5 separate regions of the Homo sapiens genome follow, and all the other regions are linked to region 1. The links are contacts of gene promoters, found by promoter capture Hi-C in blood cells and fetal thymus (Javierre and others, 2016). All regions are on one chromosome and are shown on one strand. Each heading gives the region's core, a stretch centred on a gene start or on the middle of the fragment in contact. The rest is flanking DNA. Distances are from core to core; before and after follow the strand shown. Region 1 holds the start of TAF1 (TATA-box binding protein associated factor 1). Region 2 has its middle 53 kb from the start of SNX12. Region 3 has its middle 35 kb from the start of CXCR3. Region 4 has its middle 18 kb from the start of CXCR3. Region 5 has its middle 64 kb from the start of SLC7A3.

What was found. Contacts are between HindIII fragments. The CHiCAGO score rates a contact against its expected background, and 5 or more counts as called.
Region 2: a contact is called between a fragment that was not itself captured here and the fragment with the promoter of TAF1 in region 1, in 2 of 17 cell types (M1 macrophages and non-activated CD4 T cells). The highest score is 5.6, in M1 macrophages.
Region 3: a contact is called between a fragment that was not itself captured here and the fragment with the promoter of TAF1 in region 1, in 2 of 17 cell types (activated CD4 T cells and non-activated CD4 T cells). The highest score is 7.1, in activated CD4 T cells.
Region 4: a contact is called between a fragment that was not itself captured here and the fragment with the promoter of TAF1 in region 1, in 6 of 17 cell types (total B cells, non-activated CD4 T cells, activated CD4 T cells and 3 more). The highest score is 9.0, in total B cells.
Region 5: a contact is called between a fragment that was not itself captured here and the fragment with the promoter of TAF1 in region 1, in 1 of 17 cell types (fetal thymus). The highest score is 6.0, in fetal thymus.

Annotation. Positions count from the first base shown.
Region 1 is chrX:71,365,107-71,368,030 of GRCh38, forward strand. It overlaps TAF1 (TATA-box binding protein associated factor 1), which reads left to right and starts at 1,251. Exons shown (of 38, transcript NM_004606.5): 1 at 1,251-1,388; 2 at 2,393-2,507. The coding sequence starts at 1,269. RefSeq lists enhancers at 15-584, 753-802, 1,293-1,342, 1,861-2,556 and a silencer at 943-1,132. The HindIII fragment of the contact is 14,477 bases long and covers 1-2,924 here.
Region 2 is chrX:71,013,532-71,016,444 of GRCh38, forward strand. It overlaps the pseudogene NUTF2P7. Among named protein-coding and RNA genes, the nearest start is that of SNX12, 53 kb to the right of the region's middle. The HindIII fragment of the contact is 5,492 bases long and covers 1-2,913 here.
Region 3 is chrX:71,652,186-71,654,885 of GRCh38, forward strand. No RefSeq gene overlaps it. Among named protein-coding and RNA genes, the nearest start is that of CXCR3, 35 kb to the left of the region's middle. The HindIII fragment of the contact is 6,979 bases long and covers 1-2,700 here.
Region 4 is chrX:71,635,097-71,638,060 of GRCh38, forward strand. No RefSeq gene overlaps it. Among named protein-coding and RNA genes, the nearest start is that of CXCR3, 18 kb to the left of the region's middle. The HindIII fragment of the contact is 1,043 bases long and covers 749-1,791 here.
Region 5 is chrX:70,994,022-70,996,721 of GRCh38, forward strand. No RefSeq gene overlaps it. Among named protein-coding and RNA genes, the nearest start is that of SLC7A3, 64 kb to the left of the region's middle. The HindIII fragment of the contact is 8,810 bases long and covers 1-2,700 here.

The sequences.
Region 1 (2,924 bases), core at 1-2,500:
ATATGTGAAAAAAGCAAGGTGAAAGCCGGGGTGTTGGCTCATGGCTGCAATCCCAGCACTTTGGGAGGCTGAAACGGGCAGATTGCTTGAGCCCAGGAGTCTGAGACCAGCCTGTGCAACATGACGAAACCCCGTAAAATGTTCCAACTAGGACAACTGGGGAAATTTAAGTGCGGACTCTTCCTTAAATAATATTGACTTACTTCCTAAAGTTGTGATAAAGGTACTTTGGTTCCATAGTTAAGATGCTTATTTTTAGGAGTGAAGAACAAGATGCCCATAAATGGTTTAGAAAAACAAAAATCCTAGCAAAATGTTAACCATTGTGAGTCTAGGTGAGGGGTCAGCTGTTCATTTTACTAAACTTTCACATTTTCCGAAATAAAACGTTGGGGGAACAAGTATTTTTTTTGAGGCGGGCTGGAGTGCAGTGGCCCGATCACAGGTCACTGCAGACTCCAACTCCTGGCTCCCACCTCAGACCCCCCAACAGCTGGGACTACAGGCACTGGCCACCACATCTGGCTAATTTTTTTGATTTTGTGTATGGATGGAGTCTCGCTTTCTTGTCCAGGCTGGCCTCATACTCGTGGGCTCAAGCGATCCTCCCACCTCGGCCTCTCAAAGTGCTGGAATTACAGGCGTAAGCCACCGCGTCCGGTCAAAAAATCAATTTCTAGGGAAAAATGTCAACTCAAAACAAGTAACCTGCATAGCTCGGGAATGCCTGTATAATTTACGTCAAGTCTCTCCTTGGGACGGACCGGTGAAATTGCACGCAGCACAAAGACCGGCTCTTACCCTTACTTCCGGGTATTGTGGTACAGGAACCCGAGGTTGCCTGCGCGTAAGCCACGTGACTCGAGCAGCTCCTTCTGATTGGAGGAAGAGCCACTGCTCTAATTCGGTGCCGTGAGAAAGCTCGCGCGCGGAGCAGTGGGAGCGGGCGGGACTGAATATTTTCTTTGACCAACCGCTTTCCACATATCCATCCTCCTGATCCCGTAGCGTCGAATCAAAAGCCGTTAGTAAAGTAGTTACTTCTTTCTCTTAGGATAGCCGGTCTTTCCGGGTTTTCCCCCCCTTCCCCCTCCCCTCTCCCCACTTCCCCCTCCCTTTCCCCTCTGTTTTGAGCTTCCGGTAGAGGCTGGTAGGGTAAGGGAGCTCAGTAAGTCACTTCTGGGCGACTGTTGTTTTATTTCCGGTCTATGGGACCCGGCTGCGATTTGCTGCTGCGGACAGCAGCTACCATCACTGCTGCCGCCATCATGTCAGACACGGACAGCGACGAAGATTCCGCTGGAGGCGGCCCATTTTCTTTAGCGGGTTTCCTTTTCGGCAACATCAATGGAGCCGGGCAGCTGGAGGGGGAAAGCGTCTTGGATGATGTGAGGGGGTGGGCGTGGGGGTAGGGCTCGGGGGGTGGGGCTAAGCAGAGGAAGGAGGTGCGGGGAGGAAAGGAGAGGGTGCTCAGGCAGCGAGAACAGGGCGCAGCTAACGCCGGGGAGGAGGATCCCGTCCTCATGGGTGCGGGAGCAACGTGGCGTGGGAGTGATCGTTCTGGGGGAGAGTGGGCAGAAGAGAGCGCGAGGCGAGCCCGGGGCCAGGGGCGCAGGGAATAGTGGCTTTGGAGCTAGCGCTCTGCCGACCAGACAGTAGGACACATGCTGGTTTCGCCTACTGAGATGGCTTCCCACCCGTAACCTGCTTGGAGATTCTTGACACTGCCTGCCCCTCTGACATCGCTGCCCTGAGATGGCTCTATAGAGCCAGAGGACTGGACAGGACCTGCCTCCCGCTCGTTTGGTTCCGGCCTCAGGCTTAGGACAATGGGGTGTTCCTAGCACCCGAGCGGGCCTCCTGGTCACAGTGCGCCTTTTAGGTGGCTCTCCCAGCGTCTTCACTGACTTTCGTGAAATAGTGTCCTGCGCCCTAGTGAAACTACCCTGCCTTCACTTAGGCCCGTTTTCTTGAGGAGTGAAGCTGTCGGCCGCTGTGGCCCCTCCTGTGCCGCAGGCGCATGCGAAACAGGGACCGAACGAGCCCCGCCTCGACGCCTCCAATCCCACTGATCCCCCTGCCTCGGCCCTCGTTCCGAGAACGACCGTTCCATTCATTCAGTCTTGGCAGTAGTTATTTGATTCGTCTTCTCTTGTAGTATACTTTAAAGTGTGGGCGATGCAGTTGGCTGTGGTGCTTTAATAAAGATCTGATCGATGCGGAGTTTGGTAGATGTATATTACAGTTCTCGAACGTGTTGCTTGTTTTGGCACACTGCACAGTCATTTTTCATGTGGATTTGTGACTTTGTCGTGGACCAGGGAAATAAGTCCTGTGGTGTGGGAGTCGTAGGTTTAGTTGTTATCTTCGACTCGTGCTGTCCCTTTTTCAGGAATGTAAGAAGCACTTGGCAGGCTTGGGGGCTTTGGGGCTGGGCAGCCTGATCACTGAACTCACGGCAAATGAAGAATTGACCGGGACTGACGGTGCCTTGGTAAATGATGAAGGTGAAGTCTGGGTTGTGGGGAGTAGGCGGGGGAGGAGGCTAGCCACCTACTATGTATGTACTTTTTTGTGTGTGTAAGACGGAGTTTCGCTCTGTCTCCGAGGTTGGAGTGCAGTGGGGCGATCTGGGCTGACTGCAGCCTCCGCCACCCGGGTTCAAGCATTTCTCCTGTCTCAGCCTCCTGAGTAGCTGGGACTACAGGCACGCACCACCACGCCCGGCTAATTTTTGTATTTTTAGTAGAGACAGGGTTTCATCATATTGGTCAGACTGGTCTTGAACTCCTGGCCTGAGGTGATCCGTCTGGCTTGGCCTTCCAAAGTGCTGGGATTACAGGCGTGAGCCACCGCATCCAGCCTGTACATGTACTTTTAAATGGGAATTATCTGAGGGAGTGAGGGTCGCTTACTGTTGTTGC
Region 2 (2,913 bases), core at 122-2,621, 350 kb before region 1:
GAAACTATTCTGTATGATACTGTAATGGTAGATACATGTCACTAAACATTTGTTGAAACCCATAGAATATATAATACCAAGAGTGAACCCTAATGTAAACTATAGACCTTGGGTAGTAATGATGGTTCATTGATAGTGACAAATATACCACTCTGGTGTGGGATGTTGATAGTAAAAGAGATTGTGCGTGTGTGGACAGGAAGTATACGGGAACTCTCTATACCTTTTGCTCAATTTTGCTGTGAACTAAAACTTCTCTAAAAAATAAAGTGTATGGCCAGAAGCGGTGGCTCATGCTTGTAATCCCAGCACTTTGGGAGGCCAAGGTGGGTGGATCATGAGGTCAGGAGTTCGAGACCAGCCTGGCCAACATGGTAAAACCCCGTCTCTACTAAATACAAAAATTAGCCAGGCGTGGTGGTGCGCGTCTGTAGTCCCAGCTACGCTGGAGGCTGAGGCAGGAGAATCACTTGAACCTGGGAGTTGGAGGTTGCAGTGAGCCAAGATCGCACCATTGCACTCCAGCCTGGGCAACAGAGCAAGACCCTGTCTCAAAAAATTAAAATAAATAAAACAATGTAAAACAATAACAACAAAAAATCCTGTATCTTTAAACTTTATCCCCTATGACTCCTTTTTTAGGCCTCCTGCCCTTTTAGGGCAAATTCTCCTGCCTCAGCCTCCCAAGTAGCTTTTTTAGGCCTCACAAAACTTGGTCCATAAAAACCAGTCCATCCCTTTCCTTGCTATCTAGACTGAGAGGCCTAACTCCTCCTCCTTAACTTTGATAAGCCGTCTGAAAAGCCTCTTTAGTACCTCTTCTTTAGTCTCCCTGTGACACTTCAACTCCCGGCAGCCTGCTTTACTCTACCCAGACAAATAACCTAATGACTTATGTCCAAAAGGTGATCTGAACTGATTAAGGAGGAAACTCTTTTTTCTTAGAGATTGTGTCTCACTATGTTGCCCAGGCTGGTCTCAAACTACTGGTCTGAAGTGATTCTCCCACCTCAGCCTCCTGAGTAGCTGGGACTACAGGTGCGTGCCGCCATGCCCAGCTATCTTTTATACTTTACCATCTTCTCTGTTTTCAACTAGCATGGCCTATCCACCTAACCTGTCCATCGTTTTACTATTTTCCAAAAAATTCAAGATTTGAGTCAAACAGAAACATTAAAAATACTAATGGTAAATACTAAGAATGCTAATGTTGGCTGGGCGCGGTGGCTCATGCCTGTAATCCCAGCACTTTGGGAGGCCGAGGCAGGCAGATCACCTGAGGTCAGGAGTTTGAGACCAGCCTGACCAACATGGATAAACCCCATCTCTACTAAAAATACAAAATTAGCTGGGCGTGGTGGCGCATGCCTGTAATCCCAGCTACTCGGGAGGCTGAGGCAGGAGAATTACTTGAACCCAGGAGGCGGAGGTTGCAGTGAGCCAAGATTGTGCCATTGCATTCCAGCCTGGGCAACAAAAGTGAAACTCCATCTAAAAAATAATAATAATAAAAAGAATGCTCATGTTAAAAGTACTATTCTGGAAGGAAAGTATATTAGTCAGAGTTCTCCTGACTATTATATTATATATATATCCTGAAAGTATATTAGTCAGAGAACCAATAGGATACATATAGATAGATATATGAGAGGGAATTTATTAGGGGAATTGGCACACATGATTATAGAGGCTGAGAAATCCCACAACAGGCCATCTGCAAGCTGGAGACCCCAGGATGCTGATAGCATGGTTCAGTCCAAGTCTGAAGGCCTCAGAACCAGGGAAGCCAATGGCGTGTAACTCTCAGTCGGAGGCCAGAGGCCTGAGAACCGAAGGTTAGGCAGGGAGCACTGGTGTAAGTTCTGGAGTCCAAAGACCGGGGAGACCAGAGTTCTGTTGCCCAAAGCAGGAGACAAATGTATCCCAGCTCCAGCAGATAAATCAACACATTTGCCTTTTTCTCATTTTTTGTTCTCTACAGGTCCCTAACAGATTGAATGATGCCTGCCCACACTAAGGGCAAATCTTCCCCACCTAGTCCACTCAGACTCACACAATCATCTCTTCTGGAAACCCTCACAGACACACTCCAAAATAATGCTTTACCAGGATTCTAGGTATTCCTTAATCCAGTCAAGTTGACATCTAAAATTAACCATCAGAGAAAATATATAGAAGTTCTAATTTCTTACAAACTCAGGAAACAAAAGGGAACTACTTTCCTTCAAATGAGTCTAATTTGCATTCATTATAGCCTGATGTCCAAGAGGCTCTGACCCTTAAACTTCTGTAAGCTGCTCTGACAATAAATAAGTAATTGCATACCTATCTGTGAAGAATAATCCTTCACATGATTCAACTTCCTTCTCATTAACTCTGCTTTCCACTGCCTAATAATAGTGACTATTTACTGAGCTCTAAGTATGTGCCAGGCATCGTGTTGAGTGCTTTATTTTTTTAATTTAATTCTTACAGTAAGTATCAATCCACTTGATAGATGAAGAAACTGAAGTTTGGAGAAAGTAAGTAATATTTCCATGATCAGGCAGCTAGTACACAGAAGAGCCAGGATTCATTCTTTCAACTATTAAATATTAAAGAAATCTTTTTTTGTTGTTAATAAAATTTTTGTGGTTTTATTGTATCGTCTGAACAAATCAATGTCTGGGCGGTGAGGCAGCTGCTTTCTCCTTCCCTTCTTTGGGTTACTAGAGCAACTTCTCCATAGATTTAAAAAAAAAAAAAACAAAGGACAACCTTTTGCATTACTTAAGTCTTTCCAAGGCATGCGCTGGTACAACACAAACTTCTCCCGTCAGAAGCAACTAGTCTAGTGTCCAAACATCATGCACAACACCTCGGTGGCAGCAGCGCACTGCGCCACCCGCCACAGCCTTGCTCATTTGTGCATGA
Region 3 (2,700 bases), core at 133-2,632, 290 kb after region 1:
AACCAGTGTGGAGCCTTCACTCAAGCCACCCTCAGGGAGTACAAGGCTAGAAACAAAAGCAGGGGAAACTCATCCTGGGATGGAGGTTGACTTTTTAGGAAAATGCCTCTGGCTTTATTCACAACAATAAGGCCCCAAAGGGCTGCACAGTCCAGCCTGCTATCTCTCTGTTTGTCAGGGCCCCGTGCTTTGTGTAGCACATCAGTGGTCTTAGTTGGGCCTGAGGAGAAGAAACAGGAAGAAAAGAGTTGCTGGGGAAAGCAGCTGGCAAGGTTGGCGTTAGGATGGAAGTGCCAAACAGGCAAAGGAGATGCAGCCCATCAGAAGGATTGCCAACACTGCTTCCATTTTAATTGGCACAAATGGCCCTTTCAATCCCAGCAGCTAACAGTAGAGAAGAGGAGAAACTCAAAAGGCATGAGATCACTAGCTGCCTCCACTTGCATCCCAGCAAACAGCTTAAAACGGCACTGCCCTCACCTGGTCAAATTCATGTATTACATTGAAGGCACATGTTTTTAGATTTTTTTTTTGGTCATTTCTTTTTCTCCAGTTCTTGGTCCTCCACCTCTGAGAATAAGTGGATGGGGAGGTGACAAATCTCCCCTGAGAAAATGTACCAAGTGCATGGGATTCCAGCACAAAGTCACAAACTGTGAATGAAAACTTACCACCCAAATATAAAATACTTACCAAAACATCGAAATTAATATCCCAATTATGTAAGCATCACTCCTATGATGTTTAGTGAAATCTATGAGAATATGAAAATAAAACTATTTTTATCAATAAACTGATATTACTACTCTCAAAGAGATCTGCTATAAATAGAGAAAATAATTTTGGTTATCCTTCTGGTTATAAAATACTTGACTGTTTAATGCAATGTTACTTCCCTTACCACTATTTTTTCTCTGCTTATGGCAGTAAGTAACATACAGAAAGAAAACATCACAATCTATGTGCGTAGTTTAATAAATAATTATCAAGTGCACCTGTATGGGAACTCCACTAGGCAGTCCCCCAGTAGGGACTCTGTGTGGTGGCTCCGACTCCACATTTCCCTTCTGCACTGCCCTAGCAGAGGTTCTCCACAATGCTCCCCCTGCAGCAAACTTTTGCCTGAGCATCCAGGCGTTTCCATACATCTTCTGAAATCTAGGCAGAGGTTCCCAAACCTCAATTCTTGACTTCTGTGTAGCCGCAGGCTCAATACCTCATGGAAGCTGCCAAGACTTGGGGCTTCCACCTTCTAAGGCCACAGCTTGAGCTCTGCATTGGCCCCTTTCAGCCATGGCTGGAGTGGCTGGGCACCAAGTTCCTAGGCTGCACACTGCATGGGAACCCTGGGCCCAGCCCACAAAACCACTTTTTCCTCTTGGGCCCCTGGGCCTGTGATGGGAGGGGCTGCCTTGAAGTTCTCTGACATGGCCTGGAGACATTTTCCCCAGGGTCTTGGGGATTAACATTAGTCTCCTTGCTCTTTATGCAAATTTCTGCAGCCGGCTTGAATTTCTCCTCAAAAAAAGGAGTTTTTCTTTTCTACTTAACTGTCAGGCTGCAAATTTTCTGAACTTTTATGCTGTTTCTCTTTTATTTGTTTATTTATTTATTTTTATTATACTTTAAGTTCTAGGGTACATGTGCACAACATACAGGTTTGTTACATATATATACATGTGCCATGTTGGTGTGCTACACCCATTAACTCATCATTTACATTAGTTATATCTCCTAATGCTATGCCTCCCCCCTTCCCCCACCCCAAGACAGGCCCTGGTGTGTGATGTTCCCCACCCTGTATTCAAGTGTTCTCATTTTTCAATTCCCACCTATGGGTGAGAACATGTGGTGTTTGGTTTTCTGTCCTTACTATAGTTTGCTCAGAATGATGGTTTCCAGCTTCATCCATGTCTCTACAAAGGACATGAATGCATCCTTTTTTATGGCTACATAGTATTCCATGGTGTATATGTGCCACATTTCCTTAATCCAGTCTATCATTGATGGACACTTGGGTTGGTTCCAAGTCTTTGTTATTGTGAATAGTGCCGTAATAAACATATGTCAGCATGTGTCTTTATAGAAGCATGATTTATAATCCTTTGGATATATACCCAGTAATGGGATGGCTGGGTCAAATGGTATTTCTAGTTCTAGATCCCTGAGGAATCGCCACACTGTCTTCCACATGTTTGAACTAGTTTACAGTCTCACCAACAGCATAAAAGTGTTCCTATTTCTCCACATCCTCTCCAGCACCTGTTGCTTCCTGACTTTTTAATGATTGCCATTCTGACTGGTGTGAGATGGTATCTCATTGTAGTTTTGATTTGCATTTCTCTGATGGCCAGTGATGATGAGCATTTTTTCATGTGTCTGTTAGCTGCATAAATGTCTTCTTTTGAGAAGTGACTGTTCATATCCTTCACCCAGTTTTTGATGGGGTTTTTTGATTTTTTCTTGTAAATTTGTTTAAGTTCTTTGTAGATTGTGGATATTAGCCCTTTATCAGATGGGTAGATTGTAAAAATTTTCTCACATTCTGTAGGTTGCCTGTTCACTCTGATGGTAGTTTCTTTTGCTGTGCAGAAGCTCTTTAGTTTAATTAGATACCATTTGTCAATTTTGGCTTTTATTGCCATTGCTTTTGGTGTTTTAGTCGTGAAGTCCTCACCCATGCCTATGTCCTGAATGGTA
Region 4 (2,964 bases), core at 20-2,519, 270 kb after region 1:
CATGGTGAAACAAATAATATTTTTAGTCTCTACTAAAAATAAAAATAAAAAATTAGCCAGGCGTGGTGGCATGCACCTGTAGTCCCAGTTACTGGGGAGGCTGAGGCAGGAGAATTGCTTGAACCCAGGACGCGGAGGTTGCAGTGAGCCAAGATCCTGCCATTGCACTCTAGCCTGGGTGACAAGAGTGAAAATCTGACTCAAAAAAAAAAAAAAAAAAAGCCTGAGATGCGTCTCACTGGACTAAAATCAAAGTGTTGGCAGGCTTGGTGTTTCTTCTAGAGGCTCTAGGGAAGAGTCTATTTCCTTGCGTTTTCCAACTTCTGGATGCCTTGGCCCATGGCCCCTTCCCCCATCTTAAAACCTGGTAACGTCAGGCCAAGTCCTTCTCACACTGCCATCTGTCTGGTTCGTTCATTCTGCCTCCCTCTTCTACTTATAGGGATGCTGAGATTACACTGGGCCTACCTGGATAATCCAAGAGAATATCCCTGTCACAAGTGTGCTGATTGGCAACCTTAATTTTATCTGCAATCTTCATTCCCCTTCGACATGTAATCTCACACACACACAGGTTCTGGGTTAGGATGTGGATGTAGATATCTTTGGTAGTTGGGGAATTATTCTGCCTACCACAGAGGCCTAGGAAGAAAAGGGTCGTTATCCTAGGAGGAAAAGTGGCAATGTCCCCTGGGAGATTTCCTGTGAAAACATGATGTTGGGCTACACCCCCCACTTAAGTATTTTAAGCTTGGTTTTTTCTTTTTGTGGAGACCGGGTTTCACTATGTTGCCCAGGCTGGTCTCGATCCTCCCACCTTGGCCTCCCAAAGTGCTGGGACTACATGCATGAGCCTCTGTGCCCGGCCTAAGTATTTTAACATTAGATTGGATGTTGGCTTTTTATTTTATTTTATTATTATTATTTTTTCCAAGACAGAGTCTCGCTCTGTCACCCAAGCTGGAGTGCAGTGGTGCAATTTGGGCTCACTGCAACCTCTGCCTCCCTGGCTTCAAGCGATTCTCCTGCCTCAGCCTCCCAAGTAACTGGGACTACAGGCACGTGCCACCACATCCGGCTAATTTTTTTGTATTTTTAGTAGACAATCAGTTTATCCCTTTAGGTGCCATAGGCTGAAGCCTGTATCTTCCCTCCTTGTGTTTCCCTCTTTCTCCCCACACCTTATCAAAATGAAGCCAGCTATGTGCTTTATTGCCTCAGGAGAGGTATACAGCCTGGGTAGAAGGAGAAGAGGGAGGAGAGAGAGAGCTGTGGGTCCCCGGGCCCTGCTTCCTAGTAACACTCTGAGGAGCTGGTAATTCCCCAAAGAGGAGTGGTCCCTTGGTGTGTGCAGGGAGATGCACCGGAAACTGCAGGCCTTCCAGCTGCCTGGCAGATTTCCTCAGCCACAGAAGCAGCAATGAACAGGGTAGAATGAATGGCTTAGCAGAAACTTACAGACAACAAGACCCTCTACCCCTCTGCCCCTAGATGTCTGATACCGTGAAAGGTCCCAAGACCTCTTCTTGACATCAGGGAAGCAGGAAATGTGAGGATGACTCAGGGTGAATTTCCCAGACTCTGCCAAGACGGAGTGCAGAATTGAAATTAGATTGATATAGAAAAACAATAAAGAGAGGCAATGTTTCTTGTATACCTAGATTTATAGTCTGGGATGACTAACAATAAAGAAAGATACACCTTTCAATGTACTGAGGAGCCTGGGCATAGTAGAAGAGAAAGCAGGGGGGAGCCATGCATAGTACACGGGGAATCACAAGTTTAACATGAAGCTTTTGATTTTCTTTATCCACATCAGAGAATATGATTCTCCTTCACAGGGCAGTTAATATGCAATAGCATTATGGGAAGACTGAGAAAGAATGAAAAATAGCTGGGGTGCTCTAAAGAACATTTCCTACGTAAATTGGTGCAGCCTTTTTGGAGAGCAGCTGGGTAGTATCTAGGCAACAGGTGCATCTGCGATGATTCAGCAACCCTACCAGCACAAGTGCTCAGAAGCGTATGTTCTTAAATAGGTTCCCTCCTCTCTGCCCTTCCTCCCGAGGCTCAAGCTGGCATCTCTCTACTGGCCCGCTGTGACAGCCCCTCTTACCTGATTCCCCTGTGCCCAGTCTTGCCTTGATATGGAAAGATTGCTCAGGATACAAATCTAATCATATCATTTCCCTGTTCAAAACTCGACAGTGCTCTTCCCCATGGCCCTGTGTATATAGGTCGATGCCCTGAGCCTGACACACAAGGCCCCAGTGGCCTGGCTCTTTAACAAGAGTCCCACTTACTAAGCATACTGCCAAGTTTGTTCACCAAATGAGTCAACAGGCTCCTCTCCATGCCTCTGTGCATGTGTTCCCATGTGCTCTGTCCTAACTCAGTTGCCTTATCCATTGGGAATCTCTTCCTTTCAGAAGCTGGCCTCAAACCTCCAATGCAGTAGTGACTGCTTCTTTTTGGGCTCCCACAGGACAGTCTGCACCAGCGTAGAATAGAATTTTGGATACCGGATTTTAATTTTTTTTTTTTTTTTTTTTTGAGACAGGGTCTTGCTCTGTCGCCTAAGCTGGAGTGCAATGGCATGATCTCGGCTCATTGCAACCTCTGCCTCCCAGGCTCCAGTGATCCTCCCACCTCAGCCTTCTGGATTGTAATTTTTAAAACAATTCTTTTTCCTCCACTTAAAGAATTCTTTGAAGATACAGGCTATCCCTGGTAGGTCTATATTCCCACCGTCTTGTAAGATTCTCAGTGATTCTCTCCAAGGACTTGGTTTCAGGCCCTGGGGCTCGGCTCCTCATTCTCCCAGATCACTTTCTTCTGGTCTCAGTTACCTCAGGCTAAGGGACTGGACTTAGAGATGACTTCAACACCAGAGGGGTGGCGCAGGCAGTAAGTCCTGCTTTCACTCAGCTGGATCAACAAAAGACACGATATCTGGACTGCATG
Region 5 (2,700 bases), core at 82-2,581, 370 kb before region 1:
GTTGAGGTATGTTTCTTCTATACCCAGTTTCTTGAGGATTTTTATCATGAAGGGATGTTGAATTTTATTAAATGTTTTTTCAGCATCAGTTGAAATGATCATATGGTTTCTGTCCTTTGTTCTATTGGTATGACATATCTCATTGATTGATTTGCATACATTAAACCATCCTTGCATCCAGAGATAAATCCCACTTGGCCATGATGAATGATCTTTTAATGTGTTGTTGAATTCGATTTGCTAGTCTTTTTTTGTCTTTTTTTTTTTTTTAGTAGAGACAGGGTCTCACTATGTTGCCCAGTCTGGTCTCAAACTCCTGGCTTCAAGTAATCCTCCCACATTGGCCTCCCAAAGCACTGGGATTGACAGGCATGAGCCATTGCATCTGACTGGTTTGTTAGTATTTTCTTGAGGATTTTTTTTTTTTGAGATAAGATCTCACCCTGTTGCCCAGGCTGGAGTGCAGTGGCACGATCTCAACTCACTGCAACCTCTGCCTCCCAGGTTCAAGCAATTCTCATGGCTCAGCCTCCTGAGTAGCTGGGTTTACAGACGTGCAGCAACACGCCCAGCTAATTTTTGTATTTTTAGTAGAGATGGGGTTTCACCGTGTTGGCCGCGCTGGTCTCAAACTCCTGGCCTCATGTGATCCACCCGCCTCATCCTCCCAAAGTGCTGGGATTACAGGCGTGAGCCACCATGCCTGGCCTTCTTGAGAATTTTTACGTTAACGTTCATCAGGGATACTGGCCTGTAGTTTTCTTTTTCTGAAGTGTCTTTGTCTGGTTTTGGTATCAGGGTAATACTGGCCTTGTAGAGTGTGTTTGAAAATATTCCCTCCTCCTCTGTTATTCAGAATAGTTTGAATAGGATTGGTATTAGTTCTTCTTAAAATGTTTGGTAAAATTCAGCAGTGAAGCCATTGGGCCCCAGGATTATCTTTGCTGGGAGACTTAGTATTATAGCTTCGATCTCATTACTTGTTATTGGTGTGTTCAAGTTTTGGATTTCTTCATGGTTCAATCTTGGGAAGGTGTATATGTCTAGGAATTTATTCATTTCTTCAAGGTTTTCTAACTTATTGGCATATAGTTGCTCATAGTGGCCTCTAATGATCCTTTGAATTTCTGCAGTATCAGTTGTAAAGTCTCCCTTTTCATCTGTGATTTTATTTATTTGGATAATCTCTCTTCTGTTCTTAGTCTGACTAAAGGTTTGTCAATATTGTTTATCTTTTCCAAAAAATACACAACTTTTCATTTCATCAATCTTTTGTATTGTTTTATTTGTTTCAATTTCACTTATTTCTGCTCTGATCATTACTATCTATTTTCTTCTACTAATTTTGGGGTTGTTTTTTCTTGTTTTTCTAGTTTTTCTAGTTCTGTCTCATGCATCATTAGGTTCTATTCTTCAAATAAACCACCTAATGATGCATGTTAAAGAACTAGAAAAGTTCATTTAGGTTGTTTATCTCTTCAACTAGAACTAGGTTGAAGTTTTTTCTAGGTTGGTGCAAAAGTAATTGCGGTTTTTGCCATTGAAAGTGAAAACCATTACTTTTTGCCATTATGTTCAATGGCAAAAACCGCGATTACTTTTGCATCAACCTAATACTTTTTTGACGTAGGTGCTTATAGCTATAAACTTCCCTCTTAGTACTGCTTTCACTGCGTCCCATAGGTTTGGGTATGTTGTGCTTCCATTATCATTTGTTTCAAGAAATTTTTCAGTTTTCTTCTCATTTTTTTTATTGGCCTACTTGTCATTTAAGTGCATGGTGTTTAATTTCCATGTGTTTGTATAGTTTCCAAAATTCCTCTTGTTATTGATTTCTAGTTTTATTCCACTGTGGTCAGAGAATGTACTTGACATAATTTTTTTTTAATGTTTTAAGACTTGTTTTGTGGCCTAACATATAGTCTATCCTTGAGGATGATCCATTTGCTGATGAGAAGATGTGTATTCTGCAGCCATTGGATGAAATGTTCTGTAAATATCTTTTAGATCAGTTTGCAGATCTTAATCTATAGTGCAGATTAAGTCCAATGTTTCTTTGTTGGTTTTCTGTCCAGATGATCTGTCCAATGCTAAAAGTGAGGTGTTGAAGTCTACAGCTATTATTGTATTAGGTTCTGTCTCTTTCTTTAGCTCTAATAATATTCCTTTTGTATATCAGGGTGCTCTGGTGTTGGATGCATATGTATTTAAAATTGTTATATCCTCTTGCTGAATTTATCATTATATAATGACCTTCTTTGTCTCTTTATATATAATGACCTTCTTTGTCTCTTTATATATATTTATATTTATATTATATAATGACCTTCTTTGTCTCTTTATAGTTTTTGTCTTGAAATCTATTTTGTCTGACAGAAGTACAGCTACTCCTTCTCCTTTTTTATTTCCATTGGCATGGAATATCTTTTTCCATCCCTTTATTTTCAGTCTATGTGTGTCTTTATAGGGGAAGTGTGCTTCTTGTAGGCAACAGATCATTGGGTCTTGCTTTTTTTTTATCCATTCAGCCACTCTGTGTCTTTTGATTGGAGAGTTGAGTCCATTTACATTCAATGTTATTATTAAACTGATGACAACTTAACACTAATTGCATGAACAAACAAGGTAACTAACAAACAAGCAAAGAGAAAACTAATAAAAACTCTACACTTTAACCTCATCCTCCAGCCTTATAACTTT